2 separate regions of the Homo sapiens genome follow, and region 2 is linked to region 1. Evidence: promoter capture Hi-C in human tissues and cell types (Jung and others, 2019). All regions are on one chromosome and are shown on one strand. Each heading gives the region's core, a stretch centred on a gene start or on the middle of the fragment in contact. The rest is flanking DNA. Distances are from core to core; before and after follow the strand shown. Region 1 holds the start of RDH13 (retinol dehydrogenase 13). Region 2 overlaps LENG8-AS1 (LENG8 antisense RNA 1).

The links. The method cuts DNA at HindIII sites, captures the fragments that hold promoters and counts their contacts. A contact is called where the count stands out against the background at its distance.
Region 2: a fragment that was not itself captured here is called in contact with the fragment with the promoter of RDH13 in region 1 in 2 of the 25 tissues and cell types used here (H1 embryonic stem cells and thymus).

Annotation. Positions count from the first base shown.
Region 1 is chr19:55,060,885-55,066,367 of GRCh38, reverse strand. It overlaps RDH13 (retinol dehydrogenase 13), which reads left to right and starts at 3,220. Exons shown (of 7, transcript NM_001145971.2): 1 at 3,220-3,400. The coding sequence starts at 3,336. RefSeq lists a silencer at 10-210 and an enhancer at 3,910-4,877. The HindIII fragment of the contact is 12,596 bases long and covers 1-5,483 here.
Region 2 is chr19:54,440,403-54,445,885 of GRCh38, reverse strand. It overlaps LENG8-AS1 (LENG8 antisense RNA 1), which reads left to right. Exons shown (of 3, transcript NR_126418.1): 3 at 707-1,070. Among named protein-coding and RNA genes, the nearest start is that of LENG8-AS1, 5.9 kb to the left of the region's middle. The HindIII fragment of the contact is 7,065 bases long and covers 1-5,483 here.

The sequences.
Region 1 (5,483 bases), core at 1,971-4,470:
GACAGAATGTGAATGAGAATTGGGTGCCATAAACCCTCTGATGGGGAAAGCAAAGGGCATTGTGGGAGAATCCTCTCAGCACCTGGGACAGCACCCAGTGCTGATCAGGAACATGTTAACAACCAGGAAAATGGTAAAGGCGTGGACAGCCCACCTGGAGTCCAAACAGATGTTCTAACTCCCTTGGGTGTGTCTGGGAATCAGGTAGGAGATCCTCAGAGGAGGAATATGCATGCATTGTTCTCTTTATAATAACCATATTAACAGCCAGCAATGTTCTGGCACTTACTATGGATTAAGTCCTTGTTATGAATGACTTCATGCCATCCTTCCAAATTCAATGACAGGTAGCTGGGCGCAGTGGCTCACGCTTTGTAATCCCAGCACTTTGGGAGGCTGAGGCAGGTGGATCACCTGAAGCCTGGAGTTCAAAACCAGCCTGGCCAACATGGTGAAACCCCGTCTCTACTAAAAATACAAAAATCAGCCAGGTGTGGCGGCGAGCGCCTGTAATCCCAGCTACTCATGAGGCTGAGGCAGGAGAATCGCTTGAACCCAGGAGGCAGAGGTTGCAGTGAGCTGAGATTGCATCACTGCGCTCCAGCCTGGGCATCGGAGAGAGACTCTCAAACAGGAGCTGGCGAACTGTGGCGCACTGCTTATTTTTATAAATAAAGTTTTATGGGAACACAGCTGTGCTCACTTGTTTTCACATCATCTGTGGCTGCTTCCCAGCTCCTCTGGCAGAGGAGGTGCAACAGCCACTGTGTGGATCACAAAGCTGAAATTATTTACTATCTGGCTGTTTGTAGAAAAAGTTTGCTGATCTCTGTCCTGGAAGTCAATGATATTAGGATTTCAGTTTACAGAAAAGGAGAAAAAGACAGGGAAAAACAGTGTTGTTTTTTTTTCAAGGTTGAGAAAATGAACATCTGAACCAATTGCCCATGTTATTAAATGTAAACATTTATTATTATTATTTTTGAGATGGGGTCTTGCTCTGTCACCCAGCCTGGGGTGCAGTGGCACAATCACAGCTCATCATAGCCTTGACCTCCTGGGCTCAAGCAGACCTCCCACCTCAGCCTCCCAAGTAGCTGAGGGTGCAGATGCGTGCCACCAAACCTGCTAATTTTTGTATTTTTTGTAGAGATAAGGTTTTGCCGTGTTGTCCAGGCCGCTCTCAAACTCCTGGGCTCATACTATTCTCCACTTTGGCCTCCCAAAGTGCTGGGATTACAGGCATGAGCCACCATGCCCAGTCTAAAATTTTTCTTTATTTTTAGTTTGGTAAACTATGCATAAAGTAAAATGTACCATCTTAACCATTTTAAGTGTACAATTCAGTGATGTTAAGTATATTCACATTGTTGTGCAACCATCACCACCGTCCACCTTCAGGTCTTTTTTTTATTTTGCAAAACAAACTCTGTATCTATTAAAAAACAGCTTCCCGGCCGGGTGCGGTGGCTCATGCCTGTAATCCCAGCACTTTGGGTGGCCGAGGCAGGTGGATCACCTGAGGTCAGGAGTTTGAGACCAACCTGGCCAACATGGTGAAACCCCGTCTCTACTAAAAATACAAAAATTAGCCGGGTGTGGTGACACGTGCCTGTAGCCCCAGCTACTCGGGAGGCTGAGGCAGGAGAATCGCTTGAACCTAGGAGGCAGAGGTTGCAGTGAGCTGAGATCGCCCACTGCTCTCCAGCCTGGGTGACACAGTGAGACTGTCTCTCAAAAAACAAAACAAAACAAACAAACAAACAAAAACAAATCCTGTGACTTCCCAATCTCATCTCCAGCCCCCTGCAGCCACCACTCTGTTTTCTGTCTCTATGAATTTGACTCCTCCAAGTGCCTCTTATACAGCATTTGGCATTGTGTAACTGGTTTAATACGTTTGAGATGGTGAGAGCTTAAGGTCTACAGGCCTAAGGTTTTTTTTTTTTTGACAGAATTTCACTCTGTCGCCAGGCTGGAATGCAGTAGGGCAATCTCGGCTCACTGCAACCTCCACCTCCCGAGTTCAAGTGATGCTCCTGCTTCGGCCTCCTGAGTAGCTGGGACTACAGGTGAGTGCCACCACATCCAGCTAATTTTTGTATTTTTAGTAGAGACAGGGTTTCACCATGTTGGCCAGGCTGGTATCAATCTCCTGACCTCGTGATCCATCTGTCTCGGCCTCCCAAAGTGCTGGGATTACAGGCGTGAGCCACCGTGCCCGGCCATTGACTAAGGTCTTAAAATAGCTCTTCCTGCCTGTATAATCTCCATTATGGCAGGGCTCATATAAGAAGATGACAGTTCATCTGATGAGGAAGAAAACTTACTCCTAGTTAGATTGGGTTGAATTCTTCCCTGTTTCCAGCGGTGTCTGCTCCTGGCACCTCAGGCACAGTCAGGGGTAGGAGGTGGTGATCAGATACACTCGCTGTGAGCAGTGCAAGGGGAAGCAGGTGCCCAGAGGTGCATCCCGGTTTGGTGGGGGTGACAAACATGGACAGGTAAGTGCAGGAGTGTGTGCAATACTCAATCTAAGAAAGGTAGTTCAGGCAGAGTTCAGGGAAGATATCTCTGTGCAGGGCCAGACATGGGGATGAGATTCTGATAATTTGGGAATGAATCAGGCCCCCAGCCCCTCCTCCCTCAGACTCAGCAGTCCAGGCACCCGGCCCTCCTCCCTCGGACCCAGAAGTCCATGCTCCCAGCCCCTCCTCCCTTGGACCCAGGAGTCCAGGCCCCCAGCCCCTCCTCCCTCAGACCCAGGAGTCCAGGCCCCCAGCCGCCTTCTCCTGCAGGACCCCAGGAGCTTGGGTACCCACAGGCTACTAGATCCTTGTTTCTGTGCATGGAAATTCTCAAATTATCTCCAAAAGTCTATGAAGAAGGTAAACACACATTTCCAGATGAGGGAATAGGCTGATATAGTTGAAAGACACACAGAGGGTCACAGTCTGGAATTGACAGTGGTGGGATTCGAACCTATTTCACTCCAGAACTGCGTAGCGCCTTATACGCTGCGGCAAGTGTGACGTCATTCGAACAAACCATAGGCCCCGCCCCCGGACTAGCCACGCCCACAGGCTCCTGAAACCACCAATCCCAGCTGTGACAGCGCTCAGGACCGATGCTCATAGGTCCCGTCCCTAGGATCCCCGCCCCCTCCGCCCGCGCCCCGCCCCTCGCAGCCCAGTTCCGGACGCGGGCCCAGCCGCGCCTGCGCCTCCGCTCGCCTGTGGCTGCGTCGCGCGCTCTTCCTCGGAGCTACCCAGGCGGCTGGTGTGCAGCAAGCTCCGCGCCGACCCCTGACGCCTGACGCCTGTCCCCGGCCCGGCATGAGCCGCTACCTGCTGCCGCTGTCGGCGCTGGGCACGGTAGCAGGCGCCGCCGTGCTGCTCAAGTGAGTACATTCTAGCCCCGCGTGCGCGGTCAAGGCGGGCCCCCAGCGCAGGGGCCGGGAAGGCGGCGGAGACCCCCGCCCCTCGCACCCGGGTCCAGGCCCCGTAGCTCCCGACCCGCAGTGCCCGCCCGGAGTGGGGCAAACCTGCGCTCTGGCCGGCCAGGTCACCGGCCCAAGGTCACTCGGAGGGAAGGGCGAGCCTGGGCCCTTGTAAATGTTGCTTTCCTTCCAGACTTTTAAACTCTTTATTTTGTTGTTTTGTATTATTTATTTGTTCGTTTATTTTTAAAGGCAGAATCTGGCTCTGTCGCCCAGGCTGGAGTGCAGTGGCGCGATCTTGGCTCACTGCAGCCTTGACCTCCTGGGCTCAGGTGATCCTCCCACCTTGGCGTCCCCAGGAGCTGAGATCACACGTGCGCCACCACGCCCGGCTAATTTTTGTATTTTTCGCAGAGACGGGGTTTTGCCATGTTGGCCAGGCTGGTCTCAAACACCTGCCCTCAGGTGATCCGCCTGCCTCGGCCTCCAAAGTGCTGGGATTACAGACGTGAGCCACCTCGCCCAGCCTACTTAATTTAAACTTTCTTAAAAATTAGCCTCTGTGGCTGGTGGCCACTGTATTGCATGGTGCCCTTCTCTCCTGTGGGTGCAGTGCTGTTTACCTGCTCAGCCTCCTGTTGCTGGACACTATCTTGTTGCCAGCGTTAGCCTCTGTGGGACATGGGTGTGGTGGGCAGAGTCGTGACTCCGTAGAGGGGTCCACGTCCTAATCCTCGGAAGGTGTGACGACATTACCTCACGTGTCAGAGGTTCTCGCTGATGTGTTAAGTGAAGCATCTTTTTTTTTTTTGAGACAGAGTTTCGCTGTTGTTGCCCAGGCTGGAGTGCAATGGCACGACCTCGGCTCACCACAACCTCCACCTCCCGGGTTCAAGCGATTGTCCGGCCTCAGCCTCCTGAGTAGCTGGGATTACAGGCATGTGCCACCACGCCTGTCTAATTTTGTATTTTTAGTAGAGACGAGGTTTCTCCATGTTGGTCAGGCTGGTCTTGAGCTCCCGACCAAAGGGGATCTGGCCACCTTGGCCTCCCAAAGTGCTGGGGTTACAGGCGTGAGCCACCGTGCCCGGCCAAGTGAAGGATCTTATGATTATCATGTAGTCTTTTTTTTTTTTTGGAGACAGGGTCTCTCTGTCACCCAGGCTGGAGTGCAGTCATGCTGTCACAGCTCACTGCAGCCTCACCCTCCCTGGGCTCAGGTGGTCCTCCCACTTCAGCCTCCCGAGTAGCTGACTCTACAGGCGTGCACCACCAAGCCCTGCTAATTTTTGTATTTTTAGTAGAGATGGGGTGTCAGCATGTTGGCCATGGCTGGTCTCGAACTCCTGACCTCAAGTGATCCTCCTGTCTTGGCCTCCCAAAGTGCTGGGATTACAGGTGTGAGGCACTGTGCCGGTCCTGCCTTGTAGTCTTATAGGGTCCTTATAAGAGGGAGCAGGAGGCTCAGTCAGAGGGGAGATGGAAGATAGAAGGAGAGGTTGTTGGGTGTGGTGGCTCACGCCTGTAATCGCAGCACTTTGGGAGGCCAAGGCAGGCGGATCACAAGGTCAGGAGTTCGAGACCAGCCTGACCAACGTGGTAAAACTCTGTCTCTACTAAAAATACAAAAGAAATTAGCCAGGTGTGGTGGCATGTGCCTGTAATCCCAGCCACTCAGGAGGCTAAGGCAGGAGAATCGCTTGAACCTGTGAGGCGAAGGTTACAGTGAGCTGAGATTGAGCCACTGCACTCCAGCCTGGGCGACAGAGCGAGACTCTGTCTCAAAAATAAATAAGTAAATAAATAAATAAATAAAGGAGAGGTTCCAGTGAGGATGCAGGTTGAAGATGGAGGCGGGGCCAAGAGTGGAGGAATGTGGCGGTCTGTAGGAGCTGGAAGTGGATTCTTCCCTAGAGCCTCCAGAAGGAACCTGACTCTACCAATACCTTGATTTATTCCAGTGAGACATGTTTTGGACTCTTGACCTGCCGAACTGGAGGAGGATGCACTTATGTGGTTTTAAGCCACTAAGTCTGTGGTAATG
Region 2 (5,483 bases), core at 2,235-4,734, 620 kb after region 1:
AGACATTTATTGAAGGATATCTTGGTTCCTTCCAAGTTTTTGGCAGTGATAAAGAAAGCTGCCATAAACGTGCACGTGCAGATTTCTTTGTGGGCAGAAGTTTTCAACCCATCTGTGTAAATACTGGGGAGCAGTGTTGCTGGTTCATATTCTAAGAGTATGTTTAGGATTATGAGAGACCACCACACTGTCCTCCAAAGTAGCTGTACCATTCTGCATTGCCAGCACCAATGAAGAAGGGTTTCTGTTGCTCCACATTTCTGCCAGCATTTGGTGGTGCCAGCATTTTGGATTTGGCATTCTAATAGGTATGTAGTGGTGTCTTGTTTTTTTTTTGTTTTTTTGAGACAGAGTCTCACTCTGTCTTCCAGGCTAGAGTGCAGTGGCATGGTCTCGGCTCACTGCAACCTCCGCCTCCTGGGTTCAAGCGATTCTCCTGCCTCAGCCTCCCGAGTAGCTGGGACTACAGGCGTGCGCCACCACGCCCAGCTAATTTTTGTATTTTTAGTAGAAACGGGGTTTCACCATGTTGGCCAGGATGATCTCGATCTCTTGACCTCGTGATCCACCTGCCTTGGCCTTCCAAAGTGCTGGGATTACAGGTGTGAGCCCCCGCGCCCGGCCAGTGGTGTCTTGTTTTAACGGACGGTTCCCTAATGACATACGGTGAACATCTTTTCCTGTGTTTATTTGCCATCTGTATTAGGGTTCTCCAGAGGGCCAGAACTAACAGGATATATGTATATATTGAAAGGGAGTATATTAGGGAGAACTGGCTGACAGGATCATCAGGCAAAGTCCCACTATAGTCCATCTGCAAGCTGAGGAAGGAAGAAGCCAGTCACGTCTCAAAGTCCAAAAGCCTCAAAAGTAGGGAAGCCAACGGCGCAGCCTTCAGTCTGTGGCGGAAGGCCTAAGAGTCCCCGACAAACCACTGGTGGAAGTTCAAGAGTCCAAAGGCCAAAGAACCTGGAGTCTAATCTCCAAAGACAGGAAGTATCCAGCACAGGAGAAAGATGAAAGCCAGAAGACTCAGCAAGCCAGCCCCTCCCACCTTCTGCGCTGACTGGATGGTGCCCACCCACACTGAGAGTGGGTCTCCCTCTCCCCGTCCACTCACTCAAGTGTCAGCCTCCCTGGCAACACCCTCACAGACACACCCAGAAACAATCCTTTTTTTTTTTTTTTTTTTTTTTTTTTTTTTTTTTTTTTTTGAGACCGAGTCTCACTCTGTCACCCAGGTTGGAGTGCAGTGGCACCATCTCGGCTCACTCCAACCTCCGCCTCCCGGGTTCAAGCAATTCTTCTGCCTCAGCCTCCCGAGTAGCTGGGACTACAGGCACGTGCCATCATGCTGGCTAATTTTTGTATTTTTAGTACAGACAGGGTTTCACCATATTGGCCAGGCTGGTCTCAAATTCCTGCCCGTCTTGGCCTCCCAAAGTGCTGGGATTACAGGTGTAAGCCACCATGCCTGGCCCCTTTTCCTATTTTTTAATCAGATTGTTTTCCTGTTAACTGAGTTTTAAGAGCCCTTTGTAAATCTTGGATAGCAGTCCTTCATGAGATAGGTCTCTTGCAAATAGTTTCTCCCAGGCTGCAGCTTTTCTCATTATATTAAAAATGTTTTTCAAAGAGCAGAGGGTTTTGTTTTGTTTTGTTTTTTGAGATGGAGTCTCGCTCTGTCGCCCAGTCTGGAGTGCAGTGGCGTGATCTTGGCTCACTGCAAGCTCCGCCTCCCGGGTTCACGCCATTCTCCTGCCTCAGCCTCCTGAGTAGCTGGGACTACAGGCACCTGCCACCACACCTGGCTAATTTTTTGTATTTTTAGTAGAGATGGGGCTTCACCGTGTTAGCCAGGATGGTCTCGATCTCCTGACCTCATGATCCGCCCGCTTCGGCCTCCCAAAGAGCTGGGATTACAGGCGTGAGCCACCACGCCTGGCCTAGCAGAGGGGTTTTTTTATTATTATTTTAATAAAGTCAAGCTTGTAAGTTTCTTTCATGGATCATGCCTTTGATGTATCAAAAAAATTATCACGGCTGGGCGTGGTGGCTCACAGCTGTCATCCCAGTATTTTGGGAAGCCGAGGTGAGTGGATCACTTGAGGCCAGGAGTTTGAGACCAGCCTGGCCAACGTGGCAAAACCCCATCTCTACTAAAAATACAAAAATTAGCCGGGCGTGGTGGCGCACACCTGTAATTCCAGCTACTCAGGAGGCTGAGGCATGAGAATCACTTGAACCCAGGAGGCAGAGGTTGCAGTGAGCCAAGATTCTGCCAGTGCACTCCAGCCTGGGCGACAGAGTGAGACTCTTGTCTCAAAAAAAAAAATTCACAAAACCCAGTCATGTAGGTTTTCTCCTATGTTATCTTCTAGGAGTTTTATAGATTTGCATTTAACATTCAGCTCTATGATCCATTTTGAGTTAATTTTTGTGAAGAGACTAAGGTCTGTGTATAGATTTGATTTATTTATTTTTGGCATGTTGATGTCCAGTTGTTCTAGCACCATTTGTGGAGAGAAGTTTGGAAGTTTGAGCATTTTTTATGATACCTTTTTTTTTTTTTTAGACGGAGTCTCACTGTCATGCAGGCTGGAGTGCAGTGGCACAGTCTCGACTCACTGCAGCCTACTCCTCCCAGGTTCAAGCAGTTCTACTGCCTCAGCCTCCCAAGTAGCTGGGATTACAGGCGTGCACCACCACACCCAGCTCCTTTTTGCATTTTTAGTAGAGACAGGGTTTCACTATATTGGCTAGGCTGGTCTCAAACTCCTGACCTCGGGATCTGCCTGCCTTGGCCTCCCAAAGTGCTGGGATTACAGGTGTGAGCCACCACGCCCAGCCTTATGATACTGTTCTATCTCTGCTCTGTGCCCACCACCACACCCAGCTAATTTTTGTATTTTTTGGTAGAGACGGGGTTTCACCATGTTGGCCAGGCTGGTCTCGAACTCCTGACCTCAGGTGATACGCCTGCCTCAGCCTCCCAAAATGCTGGGATTACAGGTGTGAGCCACTGCGCCTGGCCTTGTCTTCACTTTTGTTTTTTTGGTTTTTTTTTTGAGAGGGAGTCTTGCTCTGTCGCCCAGTCTGGAGTGCAGTGGCGCGATCTCGGCTCACTGCAAGCTCCGCCTCCCGGGTTCACGCCATTCTCCTGCCTCAGCCGCCCGAGTAGCTGGGAATACAGGCGTCCACCACCACGCCCGGCTAATTTTTTGTATTTTTAGTAGAGACGGGGTTTCACTGTGTTAGCCAGGATGGTCTCGATCTCCTGACCTTGTGATCCGCCCGCCTCTGCCTCCCAAAGTGCTGGGATTACAGGCGTGAGCCATCGTGCCCGGCCCACTTTTGAAAAACAGTTTCAGTGAGTATCGAATTCTAGGTTGACTACTTTTTTCTTTTGCTACTTTAAGAATTTTCTTACACTGCTTTCTCACATTGTTTCCAGTGAGAAATCTGGTGTCATCCTAATTTTTGTTCCTCTGTTTATAAAATCTTTTTGTTTTTCATCTGGCTGTTGTCAAGATTTTCTCTTTGTTACTGGTCTTAAGAAATTTGATTATGATGTATCTTGGTTTATCTTTGTGTTTCTTCTGCTTGGGGTGTGTTGAGTTTCTTGTATCTTTGGTTTTATAGTTTGTATCAAATTTGGGAAATTTGGGGTTATTATTTCTTTAAACACTCTCTCTGTTCCTTTCTTTCTCTCTCCTTATGGGCCTCCAGTTACACATATATTAAAATGTCCCACAGCTCACCAGTGTTCTTTTCATTAAAAAAAAATATATTCATTCCTTCTGGGGCAGGGCATGGTGGCTCATGCCTGTAATCCCAGCACTTTGGGAGGCCAAGGCAGTAGGATCACTTGAGCCCAGGAGTTTGAGACCACCCTGGGCAACATGGTGAGACCTCATCTCTACAGAAAATTTTTAAAGATTAGCCAAACATGGTGGTGTGCGCCTGTAGTCCCAGCTACTCGAGAGGCTAAAGTGGGAGGATCGCTTGAGCTGGAGAGGTTGAGGCTGCAGTGAGTCATGATCACGCCAGTGCACTCCAGCCTAGGTGACAGAGTGAGACCCTGTCTAAAAAGTAAAAAAAAAAAAATCATTTTTTTAAATGTTTCATTTGGACAGTTTCTAATGTTGTCTTCCAGATTTTTTTTTTTTTCCTGCAATGTCTAATCTGCTGTTCTAGGGCTGGGTGCAGTGGCTCGCACCTGTAATCCCAGCACTTTGGGAGGCCGAGGCTGGCAGATCATTTGAGGTCAGGAGTTTGAGACCAGCCTGGCCAACATGGTGAAAGCCCGTCTCTACTAAAAATACAAAAATTAGCTGGATGTGGTGGCAGGTGCCTGTAGTCTCAGCTACTTGGGAGGCTGAGGCATGAGAATTGCTTGAACCTGGGAGGTGGAAGTTGCAGTGAGCCTAGATCATGCCACTGCACTACAGCCTGGGCAACAGAGCAAGACTCTCCCCCAAAAAACAAAAATCTGCTGTTCCAGCCAGTACATTATTTATTTCAGACATTGTAATTTCTATCTGTTGATATCCAGTTTGAGTTTTTTTATATCTTCCGTATCTGTAAAGAACTTTTGGAACGTATGGAGTACAGTATAATAGTTGTTCTAATGTTCTTACCTACTAATTCTAACTCCTGGGTCCGTTTCAGTTGAATGATTTTTATCCTCATGATGTGCCCTATTTTCCTGCTTTTTGCATATTTGGTGACTTTGTTGTTGGATACTAGACAATATCAGTATTACCTTGTCGAGCACTCGTTACTTTTGTATGCCTATAAATATTCTTGAGCTTTGTTTGAGAATGCAGTCACCTTACTTGGAAGCAGCTTGATCCTTTCAGGTTTTGCTTTTAAGATTCCTCAGGCAGGACCAGAACAGTGTTTAACAGGTTAGGGCTGCTTATTCCCCACGGCTGATGTAAGACCCTCTCCGTGTTCTACCCAGTGTTCCTTCAGTTATGAGGTTCTTCTGGCAGGAACAGCGCCTTGTCAAGGCCTGTGTGAGTCCCCAGAACTCAGGCGCTATTTGCTTCAGTCCCTCCAGGTGGTTCTTTCCCTGGCATTCTAGTCTGCAGTAACAGAGGACCATGGACTGGTGGCTCAAAAACAACAAACACTTATTTCTCACAGTTCTGGAGGCTGGAAGTCCAAGATAATTTATTTTTATTTTTATTTATTTATTTTTTGAGATGGAGTCTCGCTCTGCTGCCCAGGCTGGAGTGCAATGGCGCGATCTTGGCTCACTGCAACCTTCGCCTCCCAGGTTCAAGAGATTCCCCTGCCTCAGGCTCCCGAGTAGCTGGGACTACAGGCACCCACCACTACACCCGGCGAATTTGTATATATTTAGTAGAGACAGGGTTTCACCATGTTGGCAAAGCTGGTCTCGAACACCTGAGTTCAGGTGATCTACCCACCTCGGTCTCCCAAAGTGCTGGGATTACAGGCGTGAGCCATCGCAC